Linked DNA regions of Homo sapiens: region 2 is linked to region 1. Evidence: promoter capture Hi-C in human tissues and cell types (Jung and others, 2019). All regions are on one chromosome and are shown on one strand. Each heading gives the region's core, a stretch centred on a gene start or on the middle of the fragment in contact. The rest is flanking DNA. Distances are from core to core; before and after follow the strand shown. Region 1 holds the start of RALGPS1 (Ral GEF with PH domain and SH3 binding motif 1). Region 2 overlaps ZBTB43 (zinc finger and BTB domain containing 43).

Region 1 (3,258 bases), core at 248-2,747:
CGGCTGAGTCTTTTGGGAACTCCCAACAAAACCTCATCCCAAACTGCGAAAAGACAGTGGTCTAGTCTCACCTCTTAACTAGAAACAAACCCTCTCTTCTTTAGACTCTCCAGTCCCTGAATCCAACCTGCCCATCGGCACAAGAAAAAGGAAACTCATAACTTTATCCAGCGATTTGCTCAGTAGGCACTGTTTCATCCTATCCTCACCAGGCCCCTGGGAGGCACACAGGCAGGTACTAACATGCTCATTTTGCAACGGAGGAAACAGGTGAAAAACTCTCCCAGGTAGCATAGTCAAAAGCTTCTGAATTCTCATCCCTGCTCTCCCCACTTAACAGGCTGCCATTTCAGTCTTTTTGAGACGCACTGCTGAGATCTACAGCAGCTTCTGGTACCAGTGGCCAGCAAGCCAGGACCCCTCCCAAGCCTCATACTACTCTTCAAGCACACACATTTTTCAACAACCGATCATCCAATGACAACCAACCCCCCGCCCCCCGCATCCTGGCAAGCCCCTTCAATAGCAACAGGAAAGCCCCTGAGGTGCGAAAAACAGCGCGCCCCACTTAGGGCGCGGCGTAGCATAGGGGAGGCAACCGGCCAGTAACCAGGGCAGCTGAGCTCCAAGCCCGAGTCAGCAGAGGCACAGGCAGGCCCGGACGGCCCTTCTAGCGGCAGCCCCGGATGCCCCCAGAATCCTCAGGGAGCCCAAAGCCCCCGCTCCCACCCAAGCACCCCTGGGCAGCGGAGAGGGCGGCCTTTCCTTCTCGGGCGACCACTCACCCTCGCCTGCTCCTCACCTGGGGCCCTGCTTCCGTACCGCAGCCACCCGGGCCCCGCCCCCCACCGCTGCAGGTCCCCGGGCCCCGCCCCCCGCACCTGTGCTTTCCTTGGGTCCAGCGCGGGCCGCACCCCACAGCCCCGCCCACGGCAGCCCCGCCGGCCCCGCCCCCCGCACCTGCAGCCGCGGCGCCCCGCCCAACTGCCCCCCCGGCCCCGCCCCCCGCGCCCGCGCCTCTTCCCCGCCGTCCTTCACGCTCCCGGGGACCAGCGCGCCCCTGGCCCCGGACCCCAGAACCCCCGGACCCCGGCCAGGCCCCGGCGCCGGGCACCCGCAGGCACGGCCCCGGCCCCGCCTCCCGCACCGAGGCCCCTCCCCGGCTTCGGCGGCCCTCGGGGTCCCGCCCCCCACACCTGCAGCTCCCTCAGGCCCGGCCTCAGGGCCCGCCCCGCCCCGCCCCGCCCCGTCGGCCGCGCCTCTCACCGCCGCTCTCCCCGCCGCCGCAGTCCCGGCCGGTCACCTTGACGCGGGCCGCAGTGGCTGCCGCCGCTTCCTCATGGCCCTGGGAGCGGCCCAGCGGCAGCGGCGCCTTCGCTTGGAGGCCGGGGCCACGCCGAGCCGGGCCGGGGCCGGGCCAGGCGCAGCTGGAGCGCGGGCAGACGCGGGAGCGGAGCCGGTGCCCAGCCGCAGTAGGAACCGTCCGCTCCAGGGCCTGAGCGGCGGGCCTCTCATCCAATCGGCGCGCGGCACCAGAACAGCCCCCCAACCAGCTCGTTGTAGGGGCGGAGACACGCAAATCGGCCGGCTGGTCGTACCAGTGCGCAGCCGCTGCATCCGCGGTCCTCCCGGGCCTCGGCCTCCGAGCTCATCTGCAGACGCCCTCCCCGCCCGCAGGGATGCTGCGCTGCCAGCACACCCGGCCCGCCGCCCGCCACGCCCATCCCCTGCCTAGAAATAGCCGCGCATCTTATTCCCCACACGGCCGTCCAGGCCTCACCCGATATCCCCCGTAAATCCCTACCTGGGATTTATCGTTTTCAACAAAAATGGTTTTGTGAGCGAGACATCGCCTTAGTGCCCATTCTTCACAGCTGGGAGGTAGGCACAGAGCCCAGAACGTCAGAGCCAGAAGAAACCTCGGAGTTCCTGGCGGGGCGGGGGGGGGGGCGGTCTCATCCATTTTACAGCTGGGCAGAGTTAGGCCCAACGAGGTGAAGGGACTTGCCCAAGACCACACAGGAGCAAAGCTGGGGAATGAGCCCGGATCCTGTCTCTCTGCTCCCACATCTTTACTCTGTGCCAGGCACGGTGAGGTGGGCACAGAGGTTAAGTCATTTAGCTAGAGTCGCAGGGATAATAAATTGCAAAGACAATTGAAGCCAGGTCTGTGAATCCCTGGAAATCTGGAACCACAGCAAAACTCCGTTCTGCCTCCCACAGACAGGAGGTACTATGACCTGCCCTACTCCGAAAGATTCTTGGACAAATAGAACATCATTCTGACAATCTTCAAAGTAATTTTGCAGTAATATGAATGAATATGGAATGATTGGTTATTATGCTTCCCAAAGCTTATGAAAGGAAAAAAGAAACAAACAAAAAAGAATATAAATAGAGTCAGTAGAAGTTAAACCACCTGTGTCTTAAAAGACCTCTGGGAGAAGTTTCTGCTATTTTGTATTAAGAAAACGGTAATCATCGAAGAAGGTGCTTAATTATTTTGCATAAAGAGAACAAGAGCCTGGCGAGTTGGCTCATGCCTGTAATCCCAGCACTTTGGGAAGCCAAAGCGGGAGGATTGCTTGAGTTCAGAAGTGTGAGACCAGCCTGGGCAACATGGCCAGACCCTGTCTCTAATAACAATACAAAAATTAGCGAGGCGTGGTGGCGCAGACTGTAGTCCCAGCTACTCAGGAGAGTGAGATGGGAGTATCACTTGAGCCCGGGAGGTCAAGGCTGCAGTGAGCCTCAAGTGATGGCGCCACTGCACTCCAGCCTGGATGACAGAGCGATACCCTGTCTCAAAAAAGAGAGAGAGACCATCCTGGCTAACATGGTGAAAACCTGTCTCTACTAAAAATACAAAAAATTAGCCGGGCGTGGTGCGGACGCCTGTAGTCCCAGCTACTCGGGAGGCTGAGGCAGGAGAACGGCGTGAACTTGGGAGGCGGTGCTTGCAGTGAGCTGAGATCGCACCACTGCACTCCAGCCTGGGCGACAGAGCGAGACTTCGTCCCAAAAAAAAAAAAGAAGAGAGAGAGAGAACAAGAGACAGTGTAGTGCAATGGTTCTGCCCTGGCTCTGCCACCAGCAAGCTGTGTACATGTGAGCAAGTTACTTAGCATATCTATGTGCCTCCGTTTCTTTCTTTTTTTTTTTTTTTTTTTTTGAGACGGAGTCTTGCTCTGTTGCCCAGGCTGGAGTGCAGTGGCACGATCTTGGCTCACTGCAACCTCCGTCTCCCAGGTTCAAGCA
Region 2 (3,293 bases), core at 30-2,529, 81 kb after region 1:
GTACGATTGTGGAAAAGATGACATGGTAGTAGCACCCTGTCCTACCCTGGTGATAACCTCAGGTATGTTACACAGCTTAAAAGCATGTGCAATATTACCTTTCTTTTTAACCTAAATCATCTAACTGATGGGCAGAAAAGGTCTCAGAATAGTTGCTTTTCTTGTTTGTTTTTTTAATTTTTTTTTTCTGGTCGGCGTAGCTTTGTGGACTTTTAAGTTTAAGCAGCTTTATCTATAATGTGGGAGCATGGTTCTGTAGACTACCTTGCTAAACTTAGGACTCCTTTTACAAACACATTCCAGTGCTCATAAAGAACTGGTAGTATTAGCTCAGTGTACCCTCTAAAGAGTATCTCCCCCACCTTGAAAGAGTGTATTCTCAAGATTCTTCTTGGGCAGTTTTGTCCCCCTTAAGTATAACCACTCATAGAATCCTGCCTATCTGCCCTCTCACTCTGGTTGGTGGAGTGTCACCTTAGCACTCTATGAACTACTCAAGTTCACAGGGAACTCTCAGCCACAACTTGTGGCTCCTTCTCACTAAGTGTGGTCATGGACCACTCTCTTTGTAAAGCACCATAATCTAAGACAGAGCAGGGGCTGTGGCAGCCCGTGGTACCGTGGTCAGTCACAGCAGCTTGGTGTCTACCAGCCACAGAGAAGACCCCACTGTATGGAGGCTACAATTAACCAAACAGGATTTGGGAAAGCAAACCAATGAGAAATACCTATCTCTGGCACCCTAGAGAATTACAATTAGATAAAATTGTCCAAACTCAATGTTAGAACTAAAATACAAAACACTGCCTTATCAAGAGTCTGAAACACCTTGTGACAGTAGTGGCATCTTACAGAAACTGACAAGGGCACTATGTCAGCCTTGTACCGTAAATTATCTGTTTCATATTTAGAAAGTCACTCTCTTAGCATCTCCATAGTTTTAGTTAAAATATCCTTTAGAAAGACTAAAACCAGACAACAGAGCTCTGTTAACCAATTTCTCATCCTAGGAATCACATTATTTCTAGCTTTTATATAAGTAGCACTTCCTTCAGTGAAATAGCTACCAAAACAAATCCACATTACCTAAGTATCTATAGCAAGAGCAAAATAAAATTTCAGCATGACCTTGTAATAATGAGTGATCCAAAGCTGCTGCCACCCAAAATGGAACTGGTGGGTGGAGTCCAGTTCCAAGTGCAGGTGTCTCTGTCCACCTGTTTCGATCACAACCAGTCAGAAGGTTTCCCTTGCCAGCTGGGCGGTGGGTTAACTCACCCCATTACCCATTCCAGGCCAGGACTGGAACACACAAATTTGAGGAATTAGATTTTTTTAATTGGCCTACTTAGAGCTGGTCTTTCAGAAATATCTTCCTTTTTTTTTTTAAGCTTCTCTCATAATAGCAAGTAGCACGCATCATCTGTGCCCAGATTTGCATTAATTACCATAGTTTATTTTTGTGCATGCCACTCAAGGGCCAGATCCTATTTTTAGTTAGCCTCAGTTGTATTCTGCTCAGCCTTTGCAGCTTCGTAGGACTTAGTACAAGAAGTCACATGCCGGTGGAAACTGTCCCTCCACATAAACCTCTTTGCACAGATATTACACTCATACGGCTTTATGCCTGTGTGAATTTTCATGTGGCCCACGAGATGGTGCTTCATTTTGAATTTCTTACCGCAGACCCCACAGCCGTAAGGCCGAAGACCGAGGTGCATGCTCATGTGCCGATCTCTCTGACTCTTGTGAGTGAAACTTTTCCCACACTGACAAGGATACAGCTTGTCAGTGGCTGAGAATCCTAAGTGGGAAGCTTCTTCTTTAATCCCTGTTACCATTTCAATATTCTCACTGTAACCTGCTGCGAGGGCAGCCTCCTGTCTGTGCCCAATTAGATTCCCATCTGACCTCTCTCCGGAAAACTCTTCCATGGAAGAGCCATAGAAATCCACCTGCTCATCATAATTGCTTTCATCAGCCTGTTCATCAAACTCAGCTTCCACTTTCTTCTCCCCGATGTGGAAGTCCTCCTCCACTCCCGAAGGCTGCACCGTGTGCTCTGTCTGCACGGTGTTGATGGACTCTGTGACCTGGTGCTCGTCGTAGGTCGCGTGCACATCCATGCCCTCGCAAGCCTGTTCTAAGCGCTCGGGCTTCACGTGGATCCAGCGTTTGTGAGCCATGATGCTGGGCTTGCTGTACATGGGCCGGGTGTAGTGGAACTCGGCGCTGTCGCTGGCGCCCTCCTCCCCATCCTGGCTTGCCATTTCCGTGCTCAGGCGGTCATGCTCTGTGGACGAGTTGCTGGGCAGGTATTCGTGCTCGGTGAGCTGGGATGACAGCTCGTCTTTGGTGCTCTCCTCTTCATTTTCACCATCTCTCAGTTCTTGGGCTTTGGGAAAATCAGTATGACCCCCAGAGCCCAGCTCAAAGCTCTCTACCAGGCCATTATAACTACTGCTGCTTGGTGACTGGTGGTCACTGCCATGATTTAGCTTCTGACAAAGGACTGTAGGGTTTCCCTCTAAAACTTCAGTGCATTTGTCTACCACATGCCACATCTGGAGGAAGCTTGCCGCTGTCAAGTAACTAACAATTTCTGGAGCGGGCATTACTAGACGTCCTGTATAACTAGATAGGAGAATGTTCTCAAACACTCTTGGGTTCATCACATCAGGCAAAACAATTCTCCTGCTGTTTTTCAGGAGTACCTGGTCACAAAAGTAGGGTGAACTGGCAGCAAGAACGGCTTTGTGTGCCCGGAAAATGTGGCCTTGGACAACAATGGAGACGTCACATAATTGTCCTTGCTGGCGCTGCTGGTTCAGTTTCTGTAGAATGGTGCTGGAAAAATCAGGAAATTCTACCCGAAAAGAGTTTGTTCCAGGCTCCATTTCATCACAAATCTTGTTCGGTGCTACAAGAGAAAGAAAAATTAGTACAAATTCCAGCCCAAAGATAAACTTATTTTATCCCCTCCTCCATTGTTAAGACAAGTTCCAAAGTTCCACAAAGTCCTCTAGCCTATGGGCCCCACTGGGTAAGGGATTCAATCCCTAGAGCAAAGCTTGCAGGTGCGTGTTTGCCAAAGGCAGGACTCACCACCACTCCTTGTGGAACTCCTGATTTTGGTTCTGTGTCTGTGGGTAAGAGAACTGAATCCATAGGGACAAGATTTGTAAGCTATACAAATCTCCCAAGTAAAACCAAGTACTGTAAATATTTACAGTTAAAACAAACAAGATACCCATTCAAATAATATAATTTTTTTTTAAACGAGATGGGGTCTT

The links. The method cuts DNA at HindIII sites, captures the fragments that hold promoters and counts their contacts. A contact is called where the count stands out against the background at its distance.
Region 2: a contact is called between a fragment that was not itself captured here and the fragment with the promoter of RALGPS1 in region 1, in 2 of the 25 tissues and cell types used here (dorsolateral prefrontal cortex and spleen).

The regions. Positions count from the first base shown.
Region 1 is chr9:126,913,021-126,916,278 of GRCh38, reverse strand. RALGPS1 (Ral GEF with PH domain and SH3 binding motif 1) reads right to left here and starts at 1,497. Exons shown (of 19, transcript NM_014636.3): 1 at 1,304-1,497. RefSeq lists an enhancer at 536-605 and a silencer at 1,096-1,525. The HindIII fragment of the contact is 6,028 bases long and covers 1-3,258 here.
Region 2 is chr9:126,832,114-126,835,406 of GRCh38, reverse strand. ZBTB43 (zinc finger and BTB domain containing 43) reads right to left here. Exons shown (of 3, transcript NM_014007.4): 3 at 1-2,920. The coding sequence starts at 2,897. The coding sequence ends at 1,494. Among named protein-coding and RNA genes, the nearest start is that of ZBTB34, 27 kb to the left of the region's middle. RefSeq lists enhancers at 1,700-2,199, 2,200-2,701. The HindIII fragment of the contact is 3,087 bases long and covers 1-2,822 here.